Regions from separate parts of the Homo sapiens genome. Here region 1 is linked to region 2. Evidence: promoter capture Hi-C in human tissues and cell types (Jung and others, 2019). All regions are on one chromosome and are shown on one strand. Each heading gives the region's core, a stretch centred on a gene start or on the middle of the fragment in contact. The rest is flanking DNA. Distances are from core to core; before and after follow the strand shown.

Region 1 (4,442 bases), core at 1,120-3,619, 61 kb after region 2:
CAGGCAGCGCTTCTCCTGGTTAGCTATGCTAGACACATTGGCCAGGAATTTATATAGGACTTTGGTAAGTCCAGTCATATTTTAGCATGAACTTCATCCTGGGGTATTGATTACATGAAGATGCAAGTGTCAGTTCCCTGGTATCCACCAACCAGAATGGACACCATGAATGATTTGGGGCAAACATTCCCACGTTTGCCCCAAATCATTGCTTCCTGAAAGTGCTCACTAGAATTACCTGGAGAGTGCTTAAAAATTAATTTTATTTAATATAAAAATGTAAAAAGCACTACAGTGACAAATCTTCCCATACCTCATTAGTGCATTCCCCTCCACTGTGTTACCGCTGTTATGGGGTCTGTGGTACCCTCTCAGAGTGTCTCATGAAAGCAAATATTGATAGAGATTCTTCTTTCCTCTCACCCACTTTCTGTACAAAATGAAGCATTCTAGGCATATTGCTCCACATGCCACTTCTTTCACTTAATGCATTTTAGATTTCTTTTTACATTGGTACATAAAGGATTTCACTTTGGGTTTTTTTTTTTTTGTTCACAGAGATGGACGGCCTGGCCTGGTCTGGTTCCTCAGTGAAGAGGAGCCCACCACTTCCTGTGCCAGTCCACTTCTTTGTTGGACAACTGTAGGGGTTTAATTCAGTTGCATTCAATGTTGATGGAGTAGCTACTGGGTCTTATGCACTCACTGAGTGGTGAGAGGGCACAGCCCTTGTCCCCAGGGAATTAACAGCTTGATGAGGATGGCAGATACATGGATTAACCCTAATGCACCGGGAGCCTTGTGGCAGGGTCCCTGCCTAGCCTAGGGGGCAGTATGAGGGTGACACTCAAGAGGAGGAGGTATTCAGCTGCATATTAACAATCTGTATTCATTTTCTGTGGCTGCTTTCACTAGTTACCACCCTCTTGGTGGCTTTAAACAACAGAAATTTATTCTCACAATTCTGGAGGCCAGAAGTCTGAAATCAGTTTCGTGGGGCTGAAATCATGGTGTTGGCCCGGCCATGTTTCCTCTGGAGGCTCCAGGAAACAGTCCATTTCTTGCCTCTTCTGGTGTCTGGTGGCTGCTGGCATTCCTTGGCTTGTGGCTCCACTCTTGGCCCCAGCCTTCACATTGCCTTCTCCTCTTTGGTTTGAGTAAAGTCTCCCTCTGTGTCTTTTGTGTAAGAACACGTGATTGTACTTAGGGCCCACCTGGATCATCCAGGATCATCTCCCCTTTTTTAAGATCCTTACATCTGCAAAGACTTTTTTTTTTCCTGTAAAAATAACATTCATAGGTCCCAGGGATTAGTTTTTGATATCTTTTGAGTGGTCATTGATCAGCCTGTAGCAGAAGAGCGGAAACAGCCTGCTGAGGAAGGAAAGGAAAGTATTCAGGAGGGAATGCGCATGTGCAAGGCACAGGGAACTCTGCAAACTCTCTCTTCCCAGAGTCCATGGCCTCTGGCCATGTGAAGAAATGGCACAATTCTTCTAAATCTTCATTTGCCCTGGATGGGCCTGCATCTGTCTTTGCTGATTCTTTGGAGGGTGCTCTTATGGCTGTGGGCTCTGTGGCTGCACTGGAGGTCTCTAGTTCCTGGCCTTTCACAGTCTGCACCTGTGTCCTCCACTCATGTTGTAGAACAAAGCTGGTCCCTAGGGACATTGGAAAGTGAGGGAGGTTGGTCTTCAGTGTCTTCCTCCCTTTGTGATGCTTTTTCTCTACTCTCTTCAGATGATTTTATTTATTCCTTCACAAACATATATTCAGCTTTGTCTACATGCAGGTCCTGTTTCTGGTACTGGGGATAGGGTGTTGAATGAGACAGGTGAGATCTGTGCACTCCCAGAGACTGTAGTTTAGAGGAAGAGGCAGTGGGATAAACTAGTGAGCAAATATACAAACAAGCTCATTTCAGACAGTGGGGAATGCTGTGAAGATACCGAACAGGGCCATGAGATAGGAAGTCGGTGAGTGGAGATGGGAAGGGCAGGGAAGACTTCTTAGCAAGGTGACATTTAGGTGAGTCAGAATGACAAGCAGCAGCCTGGTACTTGAAGTCTTGGGGTAGAACATTCCAGCAGGGGTGTTAATGAGCACTAAGGCCCTATGGAGGAAGGAGCTGGAGAGTTAACAGAAGTGAGAGAGGGGGTGGCCAGAGGTGACATTGGAGACACAGAAAAGGGCCAGCTCATGTACAGCATTGAAGGGCAACTTCAGGACATTGCTTTTAATCTAAAGAAGCTGGGAAGTGATATTAGCTGGGGTTTGCCCCAGGTGCTGCCAACAGCAGGTGCACATGCCAGGGAGCCAGAGGATGCATGAGTCTCTCCTCAGGAGCCTGAAGACACATGCCTGGCAGTCATAGGGGCACTGGAAATAGTTAGATTTGGGTCTGAATAAGCTCATCCAAACAGTATAAATGGAGATGAGAAAAGACCCCCAGGCTGAGATCTGAGTTGGCCAATACTGAGATGGCAAGCAGAGGAGCAGGTACCAATGAACGGACAGAGAAGAAGAGGCCTGGGAGGTAGGAGGAAAACCAAGAGGGAAGAACGCATTTCAAGAATGCAGAGCGGTCAAGGTTCACCTGTCCTGTCTCCCTGAAAGGAGGACTGCTGGCAAATAAATTCCTTCGGCAATGTAAAGTCTCCTGGAATGAGTGTTTTTGAGAGAAATCAAACCCTTAAGCAAGAGTTCAGTATTATTAACGCAGTATTGCAGGGAGGGTTTTCCCTGCCATGTCTTTGGGCCTTAGTGATGTCAATTTATAACCTTTTTGAGGTTATCCTGTTGGAGGTAGAGCCAGGAGGCTGAAGACTGTTGGCAGGGAGGAGATCAAGACACCATGTTGTAAGCACTTAAAAATTAAACTCAGCCTGTGATATGGCTGTTTAGAGAGACATTCCTTTTGTTTCAGGATGGAAGGCAACATCATTCTGTAGCACCACATTGCTTCTGAGTGGACACTTGCCATTGTCTCAAGCTACCTGTTAGGTTGGGATCTAACAAGCCAGACATCTGCTCCTCCAACAGAGCTGCTAACACTACCAACAGGACATTCTGAAAATCGTGTCAAATGTAATTGTAAGTGTTTCTACAGGGATCTAAGTGCAGATTTAACTCATTTAACCCCTTAGTGAATGGCAGGACTAAGTCAGGGGATGCTGGACTAGGGACTCTGAGGCCCTTACAACCTGAGGAGTCTGTGATCCTAGGACAAATTCTTCATTAAAATGATTGAGTGATGATGGGATAAGCTTTCATAAATGCAGCTGAGGCACAAGATTTCTTATTCAGCAGAGGCAGTTTTTGCTATATCATTCAAATAGTATGAGCATGGCTGCCAGCCAATGCATGGACAGGCCTCCTTTTTGTGAGCTAATCATCTATGTAGCCTTTCCCTAAAAGTACCCATGAGATGAGGATCAGATCCTTTGGTGTGGCATGCAAGCCCCACTTCAGTCTGGCCCCAACCTGCCTCTGTTGTGTGCTGTTGCTGCAGTCTCTTCCCACCCCCATCCTCATATTCACTGCTGGACACGTCTCCCCTCATGCTCTCTGCCTGCCCATCATCCAGCCCCTGGCACAGGACATCCCTGACTGCCTGCCTGCTGACCGCCTGCCTCCACTTCAACGGGACTTCCAGTTCCTGGCCTCTTCTCCAGCCTCTGCTTTGTTCACTCTTCCATACCCAGCTGGCATAAGATGACTCGTTTTGCAAAAAGCTGCTATTGTCCAGCACATCTTCCTGCAGCCTGAACATACTGTGCTTCTCCCTCCAGTTCCTTAGCCTCTCATGTGAACAGCTCCTCTCTCTGCTCTTCCAACAAGACTCCCAAGTTTTTCCCCTTCCAGGAAGAGGATCCTTACTACATCAGCCCTTGGTAAGCTCATCTTTGCACTTATTCTCTATAACTTCCACATGGCCTGTATCCCATGCTGTCTAGTGATAGCTTCTGTATTTCATTGACTGCTGCTATTGCATGATACTTGCTAGGGACCCCTTCAATTCATATGTTGAAGCCCTAGCTCCAAAGTGACTATATTTGGAGACAGGAATTTAGCAGGTAATTAAGGTTAAATGAGTTCTTAAGGATGGGGTTTTAACCTGATAGGATTGGTGGCCTTATAAGAGGAAGATCTCTCTCTCTCTCTTTCTCCCTCTCTCTCTCTTCCTCTCTCTTTCTTCCTCTCTCTCTCTCTTCCTCTCTCTCTCTCCCCCCCCTCTCTCCCTCTCTCTCCCTCTCTCTTCCTCTCTCTCTCTTTTCCTCTTCCTCTCTCTTCCTCTCTCTCTCTCTTCCTTTCTGTTTCTTCCTCTCCCTCTCCCTCTCTCCCCCACTCCACCCCTGAGGAAAGGCCATGTGAGTACACAGTGAGAAGGTGACCATCTGCAAGCCAGAAAGAGGGCCCTTACCAGAACCCAGCAGTGTCAG
Region 2 (4,784 bases), core at 144-2,643:
AAGTCGAAATCCCAGGTTGGGTCTGTGGTAAAATTTCTAACTTCACCTCCAGTCAACAGAATGCCACAATGAGGGAAAATATTCAGTAAGTTGAAAATACAGAACAAGGAAGCGGAAAGAAATTTTAGTGACAATGCCACTAAGTGGAAAGAAGGAAAGTGGCTCACTCCCTAGGAAAACAAACACTGATCTTTCCACAGCTACATCTCAAGCGCATTGGCCAAGGCATGCTTTGCCCTGAAAAATCACCAGAGGCCATAGCGTGGCCCCTTTCGGCCACGTACAGCGAGTTCGCTATTACAGTGCTTTCAGAGGGTACACGATCTTACTCCCTCACCCAATTTCTTATCCGTGTCCTCTCTCTGGGCCCCTGTGGCATCTATACAGCAGCCTCTGTCCTGCTGCCCCCTGGATCCTCAGTTCTCATTACATTTGGCGGCCTCCAGGAAGCTTGAACAAACCTCGACGCGATCAAAGGAGAGGAAAGCCTGCTTGTCACTTTGGGTGGATCAGAGACAATATTTCCAGGGGACAGGGCGTTACATGGCAGTTCAAGGCGCAGTGACACCCGAGTCTGATACAACCAACACTAGCTTCGTCAGGTGGCCCTTCGATGCTCATTTCCCTACCAAACAAGATTCATATCCGCTTAATAAGACCCTGGGATAATTCCAACTCTCGCTCCCCAGCAAGGCGCGCGGCTGGCCAGCCGGGGCGGGAAGCTGGCTCTGCGTTAAGGACTCGCAGCCTTAGCAGCAGTAGACCAGGCAGAAGTGTCTCCTCACTTTTACCCCAAGCCCTCCCAGAAACTGCCGTCAGAGCAGACACAAGGTTTTGGTTGGGGCATTATTTTTTGGGTGGGTGGGGAGGGGAGAAGAGACAATTAAAAGTTAGTTGAACTGAGAAAGGAACCTGGTGAACTTCCCTATCCTGCCCAACAGCCAAAGACCCCCCCACCCCCAACTTAGTTCTCCCGACTCCCAAACCAGTCACCACGGAAGCCCACCGCTGCCCCTCAACCTAACGCGGAAAATCCTACCGCTGGGGATCTCAAATAGGTGCCCAGCAAGCTGTGTGCCGGATTGGGGCGGCCGGTTCCGGCAATACCTGGTAACCTCTGGGTGTCTTTAGGCGTGTGGCTGCCGGCCCATCTTCCGAGGGCGCTCGGAGGCGAAGCATCCAAGCGGGTCCTCGTATCCAGCGGGCGGGACTCTGGCGGGCTCCGCGCGAAGATCCGGGCTCTGGCCCGAGCGAATGGCGCTCAAACCCCGGCCTGGGGAGAATGACGGCCTGAATTGCGGCGGGGCGTCCCCTCCACCGCAGAAAGTGTGGGTACGCAGAAACCCGCGGCAGGAGAGCCCCAAGTGGAGCGCAGTCTGACAGCGTCTGTCTCTGAACTCGTGTCGGACCGAGGGGACGCCACCCAGCGGGCAGGGTGACGTCACCGTCTCCCTGACACTCCACATTAAAGGGCTGGCATGTTACAGGGAGGGAGGGGGAGAGCGAAAGCCAGCGCGAGCAACAGAGAGATCCTTTCTCAGCAGGCACGAAAGCTACCAACCTAACCAACTCGCAATTGACAACAACCTCCTCAGCCCCGGAGTAAACTGCAGCAATGGTGCTGGAGCCGCAGATCTGATTTAGGAGTGGAAAGCGAACAGTCTGCCTGCATCCCGGGACCTAGATCCTGGAGGCCCCGGATTCTAGAAGGACGCCTCCAAATTAACTATATCCCTGACCGTTATTGTCTCCTCCCCTCATTTCTGAGTCACCCTCCTTCATGAATGATCCCTCTGGTACAGGATGCAAAGCTGCTCTGTGTCTGAAGACAGAATCCACAGTCAGCTGGAGAATAAATTAGCTTCAGTGACTCCTTTGAAACGCTATGAAATGAGAAAAAGGAGAGAAGTTTCCACATAGGGTGCCCAATCAGAAAACTTGGAGTGCCCCGACTTTTGCATATACATTTGCTTTATAGGACAAGATGCAGAGTCACTGCAGCCTTCTCTATTTTATGGAGTGTACAATTAGGTGAGGACCCCAATATGTGCATATGCACATCGATTTATCAAACTTCATTCAGAATCGTCCTCTAACCCATTTTACAAGATCCGTAAGGCTACCTCTACACAAGGAAAGGGTGGGGCAGGGAAGCAGGGAGGTCCCCCACATGGAAGAGTCCTTCAGCAAGTTGCCAATTTTCCTGGAGAAATAAATAAATTTAATCAGGAAAACATGTAGAAGCATGATCTCCTCCCCTAAAATAAAGACTAGGATGAGAAAACATTTCCTCACAGTTTCCCTAAATGAGGCGCACCCTAGTGTATTAATGAAGTGTCAATATAGTGCGTCCCAATTGACCAGCTGTTAAGAGTCAAAACGACCACTGGCTAGTTTATCGGAAAGGAAAGAAACCACTTATTTGGAGTATGTTCTAAGAAGGATGCCGGCTGGGGTGGGGCTGGGAAATCCTTTAAGTTTTTCCTTTACTACCATAGCTGAATTTTCAATTGCTGCCTAGTGAAACAGTCCTAGCATTGTGGAAATGATGGAAAAACATCTACCAAGCTGAAAGCCCACCCAGATTGTGTCATAGCACCAACAACATACCACTCCTAAATACAAGAGCAAAAATGTGAAATCTTAACCTTCATCAAAGGTTAATAAACCCAAGGAAAGTCAATTGAACAGAAACGTGAGGGGCTTGTTGCTCAGGAGTTGTGTCTATTTTAAATTAATATCCTGAAAACACAGTTACAGAGACATGAAAATCGAAACGTTTGGGCATAAGTTTCAACGGGCAATGAAAGAATTTTTCACCCATCTTCTAGTTTCTAAAGACATTCAAGGCACAAATTGGGCTTTATCCTAAGGGGCTGAAATCAACCTAGTGCTCCCCCGCCAATACCCCAAAGCCTCCCATCCTAAAAAGAAGGAAAACTCACACTTTCTGCCTACCCAGCCCATTGGCCAAAAGCGCGCCATTGTCATTCACAAATCCCTTCTCTCTGAGGCCGAAGGCTCAGTGCTCTTTAGAAGGTTTCAGGGCTAAGCTGGTTCTTTTCCCCTCCTCTGCCTCCTCTCTGGGGTCAGGGGCTCCCACAAAGGGAAACGTTCCCAGTTCCCAGACTGCCAGGAAGAAATCTTGAGCCACGTGGAAACGAACCCTGGAAATGGGGCTGATTTTACGACTGAGAGCGGGAAGAAAGGAGAAGTCCTATCACCTCTCTAACTACCACAGGGAAATATCTGGTTGCTGCCGGGGAGGGAGAACTACGAGGTCTTCACTTTTGATTGTACAGTTCCCATTGTTACCCCACAAAGCTCCTCTTCCTCTTACAGATCCCTATCTTTTAAAAAAGAGTGTCTTCAAAAACAGATTTATTTGACAAGAGAAATGGGCTGAATCTTTGCCTTCCCTCCCATTCCAGGTTACCCTGAGGACTGAATCCACATCTGGGTGGCACCTGTAGCCACTTCCTTACCTGAATTTTAAAACAGAAACATTTACAAATTACTTTTGGGCTTACTGCCTACAAGCCTTAACTTTCTTCCCCAGTGCCCTCCCACCCTACAGGACAAACAGGATACACAACTTTAATAGAAAAAGGTTTCATTGGAAGGAAAAATGAGTGGTATTAGGTTAAATAATTTTACACAATTCTAAGAATAGTTCAGTGTTTTATTTCCCCTATGAGTCTAGGGTGCCTGTTTAAAAAGTCAGGTCAATTATATATTTTTGGAAGGTAAAAGTGGATAACAGTTATTCAAAGACTTCACACTTGCCCCCAGTGAATCCTCATCTTGAGACCAGAGCTGGACTGCAGAATCACAGCCTGTTGGTATATTTTGAGTCTGCGAGCAACCTTCTGCCACCCACTGTCTCTGTGACCCTTTGTTTTCTCCTCAGTTTGAACAAGTCTCCTGCTGGTCCTCTGTGGAGTCCTTGTCAGTCCCTGTTCTGGCCCCTGGGACACTGGCAGGCTCAGGGAGGAGTCGACGGTGGCGAGAGGAGGCTGGTCGAGCCCGAGTTAATCAATGCTTTCCTCTTCGAGCTGACATGCATTTTACACGTCAGGACTCTCCTCAGCCGGCTAATTGATTCAAATTGTTTTATTGGTTAAACTGGTGTCACCCATTTTCATGATCTATCACCACATGGAGGAGAGCATTTCCACTCCCATCTCCGTTCCGGGCGGCTGCGGTTCACCCAGGCCAAGGACAGGTAAAGGAGCCCAGACGCGGGACCCAGAGGAAAACCACAAACCGAGCTGGCCTCCTCATAACTGGAGAGGCGACGTCTGGAAGTAAGAGGAGGAGGCCGGCACAGCAGCGCATATGGGCTTCCAGCTACAAATTTAAACTGGTTGAAGAGAACCCACGCTCAGCCGGGCCTGGGCCCAGTTTCCTCCACCTGGGACACAGTCGGTTTCCGAGCCGGCGTTGAACTCCGCGGTATAGGAGGCCACAACAAAACCCGGGTGGGAACTGTCCGCGGTGCTGACGAGATGCATCGTTCCAAAGCACAGCGAATCCTACTGTGTTCAAGTCGGGAAGAAGCCTCCCAGCATGTAATTGAGCCCTAGATTCGGCTCTGGGCGGGCTCGAGCAGAGCCTCATAGTCTTAAGAGGCGGGCAAGGTGCAACACAGAACCACACCCCCTACTTCTCCCACACTTGCCCCATCTCCAAGGACTGAGCAATCCAGATCTCTCAACCCCACCCCCTTCCTTGCATTGACAGCAAAGAAAATAAAAGCCTGGACAAAAAATCATTACAATCTG

The links. The method cuts DNA at HindIII sites, captures the fragments that hold promoters and counts their contacts. A contact is called where the count stands out against the background at its distance.
Region 1: a fragment that was not itself captured here is called in contact with the fragment with the promoter of SKOR2 in region 2 in 2 of the 25 tissues and cell types used here (spleen and thymus).

Annotation. Positions count from the first base shown.
Region 1 is chr18:47,310,361-47,314,802 of GRCh38, forward strand. The region is part of intron 1 of MIR4527HG (MIR4527 host gene); the gene reads left to right. Among named protein-coding and RNA genes, the nearest start is that of MIR4527HG, 27 kb to the left of the region's middle. The HindIII fragment of the contact is 6,401 bases long and covers 1-4,442 here.
Region 2 is chr18:47,250,267-47,255,050 of GRCh38, forward strand. It overlaps SKOR2 (SKI family transcriptional corepressor 2), which reads right to left and starts at 1,394. Exons shown (of 9, transcript NM_001278063.4): 1 at 1,108-1,394. RefSeq lists an enhancer at 1,262-1,778. The HindIII fragment of the contact is 10,120 bases long and covers 1-3,282 here.